Regions from separate parts of the Homo sapiens genome. Here region 2 is linked to region 1. Evidence: promoter capture Hi-C in 16 types of primary human blood cells and fetal thymus (Javierre and others, 2016). All regions are on one chromosome and are shown on one strand. The core of a region is centred on a gene start or on the middle of the fragment in contact, and the rest is flanking DNA. Distances in the headings are between cores, read along the strand shown. Region 1 holds the start of FAM120C (family with sequence similarity 120 member C). Region 2 holds the start of MAGED2 (MAGE family member D2).

What was found. Contacts are between HindIII fragments. The CHiCAGO score rates a contact against its expected background, and 5 or more counts as called.
Region 2: a contact is called between a fragment that was not itself captured here and the fragment with the promoter of FAM120C in region 1, in 11 of 17 cell types (fetal thymus, activated CD4 T cells, naive CD8 T cells and 8 more). The highest score is 13.1, in fetal thymus.

What each region holds. Positions count from the first base shown.
Region 1 is chrX:54,179,955-54,185,677 of GRCh38, forward strand. FAM120C (family with sequence similarity 120 member C) reads right to left here and starts at 3,300. Exons shown (of 16, transcript NM_017848.6): 1 at 2,546-3,300. The coding sequence starts at 3,244. RefSeq lists silencers at 2,793-2,842, 2,853-3,062, 3,633-3,732. The HindIII fragment of the contact is 3,156 bases long and covers 1,677-4,832 here.
Region 2 is chrX:54,806,990-54,810,687 of GRCh38, forward strand. It overlaps MAGED2 (MAGE family member D2), which reads left to right and starts at 756. Exons shown (of 13, transcript NM_177433.3): 1 at 756-813; 2 at 2,314-2,387; 3 at 2,733-3,224. The coding sequence starts at 2,343. The HindIII fragment of the contact is 578 bases long and covers 2,160-2,737 here.

The sequences.
Region 1 (5,723 bases), core at 2,050-4,549:
TTTACAGTGAACATCTGAATACCCGTGACTGAGATTCTACTATTTTTACTATACCTGATTTATCACATATCCATCTATTCAATCCATCTTTTTTATTAACTGCTGGGATTTTAAAAATGAGACTGTGTAGTGAAGTATGACAAAAATATACTAAGGGCTGCTTCTCTAAAGATTTTGACTGATGGGGTATATAAACAAAAAAAACTTTGGAAACCACAAACCCATACTCAAGTGTTCAACTCTCCTGCCAACCTCCAATCAAAATCTATTCAGAGCTCATAACTGGCTATTCGGGTCTCCACACCCTTGTCCGCTATCTGAACTATCTACAGCCCTCTTCATGGCTTAGCACCATCGGTGAAGCCTTCCCCAACTTTCACTCCCTTACTCAAAATTAACCATGCCCCCTATAGGGGCCACATTTTTCATCACTTGCAATTAGCCCACAGTATCTGCAATTTATTATCTCTTTCACTAAACCTTGTCCTCCTTGAGGACGGGATCCCCTTATTTACCTCTCAGTCCTCAGCAAGCAGCTAGTACTTAGCCTACAGCAAGCACTCAAATAAAAAAGTAAGTGAATGACCTGAACACGTCTTTACCCAGGAGCCAAGGAAGAGTTTAGCTGAGTGGGGAAATGATCTAATCACAGTGGCACTTTAGAAAGATTCATTTTAGAGCAGCACTGTTGTTTAGAGTATGAGCTTTGGAGGAAGACCACATAGGCACAAATCTCAGCCCTGCCACTTATCTCTGGGTGACTTTGGGCAAGTTTCTAAGCCCGTGCCTCAGTTTCCTCATTTGGAAAACAGGGATAATACTGCTTTCATAGGTTATTGCGAGGATGATGAGGTAATTTTTTTTAAAAGAAGTGCACAGATCGACACCTAAAACATAGTAAATATTCCATCAATGTGGTCACTATTGCCAGCAACCAGGTTAATAACAACGAGGTTAAAAAGTCCTTAAAAGCCTGGGTGGTAGCAGTGAAAACAAAGTGGAAAGAATGGCCATGAATAAAGAATCTACCTTAAAATGTTCAGTCAGAAGAGCAAGCAAATGTGTGCCTTTTTTTTTTTTTTTAACCTTGTATGAGATAGCTCACGTTTGGATTAGTTTAAATTAAAACAACTATAATCTAGGCACTCTAGGCACAGATTTGATGCTGAGAACGAGTCTAGCATGACTGGACTCTAGCCACAAGCTCTATAACCACTGCAAGCTTCTCTGTTTAGGTCTTTTAGTCTCTGAGCTAAAATTTCTTTCCTCCTCATTACTCCAGCCGACACCACTTCTTAAGTGATTCCCACAATCCCCTGTTCTGTCTAACTGTAAGGACAACCCCCAAGAACCTTGGTTGGGGAAATAGGTTTGCGGTTTCTTTCTACCCAACCCTGTACTACTTTTCTTTTTCTTCTTCCTGCCCACCTCCTTTACTTCCCAAGCCTTGCTATTCTCTACACGTAGGAACTTGAAACCTAAGAGTATGGGAAAGCAACAGAGCAGCAGCAGTGGTGCCAAGAACTGGGGATGCTGCCAAGCTGTTCCCCAGGCCCCATATGCAGTGACCCAACTACATGCAGATTGGACTTAACTGCCTATGGGGCCTTGCACACTTAATATTCCTTTTTGCTTCTGCTCATTTTCTTCCTCCCACTTAAAGCAGCCTCCTCCCAAGCTTGTGACTCATTCAAATCCAATCCACCTTTGAAGACCCAGGTGAGGTCCGACTTCTTCAGGGAAGCCTCCCCTGACCACTTTAGTCCAAAGATATCCCACCACTCCCACATACAGAAAACAGGAACTGTACTTACTGTCTGGACCATAAGGCATAATCACATACACATTGCTATAATTAAATGTTTCATGTGTATACATTTAACTTTCCAAGGGCATGAGCAGTGTCTCACATGTCTTTAAAACCCTTACACTCAGTGAGTTAATACTTGCTGAACAGTGACTGAATCAGTGGGTTTTTATGTGTTTAGGCTAAGGCAGGAGGAAGAAGATGCATGTTGAAATGAAAAAGGCTGAATGGACACAGATGGGTAAAAAAGCAGCAGTGGGTGAAGACGGAAAAACAATGTAGAAGAAAGGTGTTCAGTTCACACCTGCTTAAGTGATTTACTGCGAGGTTGGAAAGAGATACAGGAGAGAGATGTCAACTGGCAAAAGCAGGGTAAAGGCATTTCAGTTTGAGGCAGAAGACACCAGGAGAAAGATGAGGCTACAAAAGAAATTCTGACTAGATTCTGCTGAAACCTAGTGGTAGGCCAATTGGATAAGGGAAGCTAAAGGGAGCTACTGGGATGACATGAGTAGAGATATGGCCATGTAGGTGAGTGAATCCGTAGGGGGTGGTATGAAGGGGGAGGTAAATGGATAAAATGGTAGAGGGTAGTTAGGCAGGTAGGTTAGCTGTTGGGCGGGTAGGTGGGTGGGTAGATGGGAGGTAGGGTAGTGGGTAAGTGGGTAGGTGGTTAGGTATTTAGTTGGGAGGGAATAGGTGTGGGGCTTATTATTTAAGATCCGGCCCCTCCCTCACCTTGACCCGGAAGCGGATGAGTGCTAGCCTCACGCAGTGGCTCAGGCAGGCCGGTGGCAGGAACCAGGCCCGCGGTGGAGGGGTGCCCTTGTTGCCCACGTGTCCCACGATCAGTTGCGCTGTCTGCCGCTCGGCCTGGCACCGACGGCCCCACTCGGCCAGCCGGTCCTTGCCCAGGCCCCCCGGGAACATGACCACGAGCTCCAGGCCGTCGCCGCCAGGATAGGCACAAGCCTGGCACAGCGCTGACAAGTAGCCCAGCATGGCGTTCCATTGGCCGCCACACACCCAATCCGTCTGGTAGCCGCCATAGAGCCGCGGCAGCGCCGAGCCGGCGTCCACCAGCACCCGGGCCCCGGGCAGCTGAGGGGGCGGCGGCGGCGGCAGCGGAGGGTGCAGCCCGGGCTGCGCTTGGCCATGATGGTGGAAGTGGTGAGCGGGGTGATGGTGCCGAGTCGGCCCCGCGCCCCCGGAGTAGGCACCCAAGGCAGCGGGCGGAAGCGGCGGTTGCAGAGGCACGGAGCCCCTGGCGGCGCGTGGAGCCCCGGGCGCTAGGGCTGCAGTCGGCGGCAGCTGGCGGTGCAAGTGCTGCTGCTGCTGCTGGCGCGAGACCGTGCGCGCGAGTTTTAGGAGGTCCACGGGCACCACGGCCCCGGGACAGCGCTTCTCCAGGAACTCTTGGAAGCCCTGGACACCCATGCTTCGTCGGTGGGCAGACGCGATAGCGGCTGCGCAAGCAGGATAGGCGACGATCTGGGCGCGAAGCTGGGGGCGGGCGCGTGCGCACTCCGCGGGGGGCGAGGGGGGGCGGGAAAAGGATTCCCGAGGGGAGGGGTGAGGAAGCGAGGGAATGAGGGCGGGGAGGGGAGGAGACCACAAATTGGATTTGGGTAGAGAGAAGGGGAGGGGCAGACCGGACCCGGGAGAGGCTGGGAGGATAAAAGCGAGGATGGGCTCTAGTCACTTCTCTTTTTTCTCCTTTCCGGCCGCTCTTCTTCCCGCTTTAGAAGGGGTGAAGCCTCTTTCTTCCACCTCCGGGAGCCATGTTGCCTCGTCTTCTCGGTGGTACACGCTTTCTAGCTGGAGGAAGGGGAGCGAGGAGGGGCGGGGCGGGGCGGGGAGAGGGGCATCTTGGTAGTTGTAGTCTTCTCTATGGCCTTAGGATATAGTCGAGGAACCAGACTACCACCCTTCTCAGCCCTTGTGCTCACAGGGTCACAGGAAGCGGGGCGTGATGATGAGTGTTTAGGAGTTGCACTCCAACTCCTTGCATCTCACTGAGTTGCTTAGGTTATTTACTGCTTTTTCCTGGAAAAAGAGTTTTGGGGGATGGATTGATGCATCATGGGAATGGAAGTTAGAGTGGATTGACTGAATTCAGCTAAAGTGAGCTAAAACTCCCCAGGAGGGAGGATTTTCCCCTTAGTGGAAAGATAATATTTAAAGAGCTGTTGGTCCCAATTAAGAAAGACGTAACTGGTCGGGCGCGGTGGCTCACGCCTGTAATCCCTCCGAGGCGGGCAGATCACGAGGTTAGGAGATCGAGACCATCCTGGCCAACATGGTGAAACCCCGTCTCTACTAAAAATACAAAAAGTAGCCGGGCGTGGTGGCACGTGCCTGTAATCCCAGCTACTGGGGAAGCTGAGGCAGGAGAATCGCTTGAACCTGGGAGGCGGAGGTTGCAGTGAGCCAAAATCATGTCACCGTACTCCAGCCTGGTGACAGAGCCAGACTCCGTCTCAAAAATAAATAAATAAATAAAAAGAAACTTACATTATTTACTTGCCTAAGGCAATGCAGAGACAAAGTTAAATCGAATATCCTTGCCCTCAGCATCTCTTTGGGCAGGGAGATAATTACCAACACAAATTACATTACAAATTGTACCTTTTTGGTACTCCTAGATCCACTATGTCCTATGGTTAGGGCCTTTGGTTTCCAAACTTCATTGTGTTTTAGTCTGTCGGGAGCTTTTCTAAATAGCTGCAAGGGCTCTAATTTCAGATGTATGGAGTCATAATCTTTTGAAAAATGTATTTTCAACATACTGAGATGAAACAGATGCAGTGCCTGTCTTCTTTCTGGCTTTTAGGGCCGGCCCACTCTTTCAGCAGGAATAAAGCAGAAAACAAGATCTGAAATGAGTAGTAGCCAGATCTGGCTTGGAACTTACTGGAAGATGGGAGATAATGGCAGGCAGAGTTAGAATGCAGAAGTGCAGAACCCAAGAGTGATCGGGATGAATGAGATAGGGGAATACTCTATTAGGATGCAAAAGCAAAAAAGCTTCAAGCTACATAAAAGAAATTATAAAATAGTGGAGATGGAACAAGCCAGATTGTCAAAGAATAAGTAGATGGCAAGGCAGTGTACATAGTTAACTCTTGAAAGCAAGCAGTGAAAGGAGAGAGCAGTGGCTTGAAGGGATGAAGGATGGAAGGAATGGAGGTTTTTTAGTATAATGGACACGTGTGGGACGGTCTGCCCAGCCCCTCTTTTCCGGGAATTGACCCTCCACCTTCCCCCATTTATAGGGTTATGGCAAAAACTGTCGTGTTCCTATAACCATAGCTTATTGGGTCAGAGGTGGGCAGCTAATCCAACCTGGGGCAATCAAAATCTCATTTTCTAGAAATTTGCAATTAGACAAGAGATACCAGCTTTTCTCTAAGTGTAAAGCTTGGAAGCTGTCAACCAATTTTCCCACCAGAGGGACAGAAGTGAAAGATGCTGGTCTGCAGAAAGAGAGAAAAAATGCAGACTTTCAGAGAAGAACAAAGGTGAGAAATAGAGTCTTCATTGTGTTCAATTCCCAGCTTCCAGATAATGCAGTGGTGTGATTACAGCTCGCTGCAGCCTCGACTTCAGCCTCAGCCTCCTGAGTAGCTTGGGACTACAGACACATGCCACCATGCCTGAATAATTTTATTTTTTGTAGAGACCCTAAAATGTAGAACAGATAGAGATCAGAGACCTCTGCATCAGTTGATAGGAAGGAAGTTGGCATTCTGTGTTATTTGGCAGTGAAGCATTTGCTTATTGCTCTTGGGACTCAAAACAGCAGCCCCTTTTGCTTATAACAAGAGATCTGCATTTGCTGAGGGTCAGATATTCATTGGCCTTGCTGAATTACAGCAGAATCTCAATTTTGTCTCAAAGGTTTCACCAGTTAGGA
Region 2 (3,698 bases), core at 1,199-3,698, 630 kb after region 1:
TAAATAACATGAAAAATATTTGTAATATGTGACATGTACAGGAGAGACATTGCTGGCGGGAATGTTATCCATTTACTTTTTAGGAGTAAGTTGACAAATTTTGCATCAAAATGGAAGACTTTTTTGTAGCATTTGAGCTAGCAAAAAATACCATAAATAACAAAAAGTGCACCAAGCAATCTAAATGTACATGTGTACTGGACTGGTTCAATAAATTATGGGACATCTATGCAAGAAAAGATCATGCAGCTGTTTAGAAAAATGTGCACTAACGGAAAGATGTTTTATATATAACTGGAAAAAAACAGGTCGCAGAACAGAAGGTATGTATAGTGTACCATTTGTCGGAGAGAGAACCTGAATAATTAGTATACGAATAGAAAAAAAATCTGGATAGCAAAATGTTAATAGTGGTTATTTCTGGGAGATGAGTGGCCTTTCATTGGTGTGTTATATATTACTGCATTGTTTGAATTTTTACAACAACAACAAAAGAACAACATATTACCTTTGTAATAAGAAAAAATGAAGATATAAAAATAAATTCAATGAATGACTTGCTTTCAGGGGGCGGTTTGAGTTGGAAGAGCTTCAGACTGAGCCTGGTACAGTGGCATAAACATGGGCTTTGGCGTCAGACAGCCCTGAGCGGGGCCCCATTGCCCCACCCCCGAGGAAGGCGAGGGGGGGTGGCAGGGGGCTGCGGAAAGGGGCTGGGCTGGGTTGGGCTGTCTGCAGCTCTAGTCCAGGAGGCTGAGACTTCGAGAGGGACTTAGAGAAGGCAGACGCATCCCGAACTCGCTGGAGGACAAGGTGAGGGGCGTTGATATTGGGGTTTTATGGAGGTCAGACAGTGGTTCCAGACCCCTCGAACCCATAGCCAGGCAGATGAGCAATTCTTACTGCACCACTGCAGCTGAAGCAGAGGTGACCTGGAGTGGGGTGTAGGCAATGAGGACGACTGAGAAAGTAGTAGGCTGTACAGACTGGGAGCAGAGACTAGCGGAGGGAGGAGGGGAGAAAAACGGGGAACCAGGAATGTTGGGAGGGGGACGAGGAATACAAGGAGGGAGGGGAACACTGAGGGGGAGTGAAGATCCAGAGAAGAGAATCGGGGATGCAGAGAGGGATTAAGGAATACTGAGGGGCAGGGTGTGCAAACGTAACACGGAGGAGGATGTAAGAAATGGGAAGAAGGAATTCTGGAGTAAATAGGAAATGTGAGGTAGGAATAGGGAGTAGGGAGCCAGGCTAAGGGAATACGGAGGGGGGCATAAGGAATGAGGAGCAGGGAGCGGGGGAGGGGCAGACAGGCTGGGACGGAGGCCCCCTAGGGAGGCGGAAAGGGGCGGGACCACTTCCGGCCTAGAGAGGGGAGGGCAGTCTCCGAGTTTCGGAGGGGCTTGGAGTGAGTGGACGCACTCGGGAATTGTAGGAGGACGAGGTGAGCAGCCGGGTCGGCTTTTGGATGAGAGCCCCGCTAGGGGTCGGCCCCACCCTCTGGGATCTGGAGAAAACCTGCCTTAAGGACCGGATCGTACCGGATCCATCCGGCTGGGAAGGGAGGGGACTGGACCCGGTTTGGCCGGGCCCAAGATGGAATCACTAGCTCAGTATTTATTTGAGGAGGGGGTGTAATAGGGAAGGGGCGGAACCAAGATGCGCCTGTTTGGAGGGGGGCGTGTTAGGAAGAAGGGCGGGGCCAAGAGACACTGGACTCTGTAGGGCGTGAGTAGGGGAGGGGCCGGGTCCACCAGACACTGCGACAATTTTGGAGGAAGGCTTGTTGGGCAGGGGGCGGGACCGAATGGTACTGCGGACCTGGAGAGGGGCGTGTGTTGGGGCAGAGTGCCAGACTGAGACCACGACCATTGCGCATGCGCACTATGTTTCGCTAGAAAGGGGCGTGTTGAGAAGGGCCAGCACTGAGAAGAGCCAGCTGCTGAATGCGCATGTGCACGGTGGACATCAAAGAAAGGGCTCGTGCTGGGAAAGCGGGCGGGGCTGAGAGCGGCCCTGCAGCCGACGCGCATGCGCTCTATCGACCTGCGGCTGGGTGGGGGGTGCACTGGGAAAAGGGGCGGGGTCCTCAGAGCTGCCGCGCTGGCACATCTTCCTGGAGAAGGGGAGGGTGCGGCTGCAGAGAATTGAGACTTAGAAGCTTTGAATTCCTGTATCTGAGAACGGAGTCGTTGGGGGTGGTGGAGGGGGTTGGAATTGGGGACCTACGGAAGGTGAGGATCAGCCTCCAGGCACAACAGGGGAGAGGACGTTCAGTGGGCTTCAACTTGACCCAGGCCTTCTCCCCTTCAGGCTCAGCTCTTGCCAGGCCAAATTGAGACATGTCTGACACAAGCGAGAGTGGTGCAGGTCTAACTCGCTTCCAGGTAAGGCCTCTTTCTGTCCTTTCCCCAGCTGCTTTTCCTCTCCAGCCCTTGTTGCTGCCCCCAAGTCCCTTGGCTCTTCCCCTCCCATCCTTGTCCTTCTCCACCTACTTTCCTGCCTGGGTGTCCCCCTGCCCAGTGGAGGGAGGGAGAGAAGGTGGGCGGGCCCCTCTTCTGCCATCAGTTCTTGCTCAGAGGAAAGGGAGGCCTTGTTGGGCTGAGGTGGTCAGAGCACACCGCAGGTAGGAGTCAGTACAGGTCAGAGAAGTGTGGCCTTGGAATTTTGGAGCCATTTGCTTAGTTGGGGGTGAGGAGAAGGTCTATGAACTTCCCTGCTTCCTCTTGCAGGCTGAAGCTTCAGAAAAGGACAGTAGCTCGATGATGCAGACTCTGTTGACAGTGACCCAGAATGTGGAGGTCCCAGAGACACCGAAGGCCTCAAAGGCACTGGAGGTCTCAGAGGATGTGAAGGTCTCAAAAGCCTCTGGGGTCTCAAAGGCCACAGAGGTCTCAAAGACCCCAGAGGCTCGGGAGGCACCTGCCACCCAGGCCTCATCTACTACTCAGCTGACTGATACCCAGGTTCTGGCAGCTGAAAACAAGAGTCTAGCAGCTGACACCAAGAAACAGAATGCTGACCCGCAGGCTGTGACAATGCCTGCCACTGAGACCAAAAAGGTCAGCCATGTGGCTGATACAAAGGTCAATACAAAGGCTCAGGAGACTGAGGCTGCACCCTCTCAGGCCCCAGCAGATGAACCTGAGCCTGAGAGTGCAGCTGCCCAGTCTCAGGAGAATCAGGATACTCGGCCCAAGGTCAAAGCCAAGAAAGCCCGAAAGGTAAGACCTCTGCAGTCACCACCCTTGGTTTTCTACTCCTCTCTCAGTTGATTCATTTGTTCTACAAACATTTAGAAAGATCCCTGTGCTCATCAGGGCTGTGGGGGGCACTGAGAGTAATGTGATGTAATTCCTGTCTTCAGAGAGCTTGCAGACTGATGGGGAGGTGCAATCTGAATGTAATGCAGTTTATGTTTACATAGTAGCTGCCCTGTATTAGGCCTTGAGCTAAGCACATTTATGCAGGTTATCTCATTAAATCTTGAAAGTAATTCTCATAGCCCCAATTTTATGGAGAAGGAAGCTGAGTTCCAGAGAGGTGAAGCGGCTTGTCTAGGATGGTTCAAGCAGAGCCAGTAGTGGGCACAGAAAGAGAAGAAGACTCAGCCTCCACCCACCCTTGGTTTGCTCCTGGCCTGCTAGGCAGATGAAACACCTGCTTGGAAGTCAGTGAGAAACAAATCCAGGGTTCAG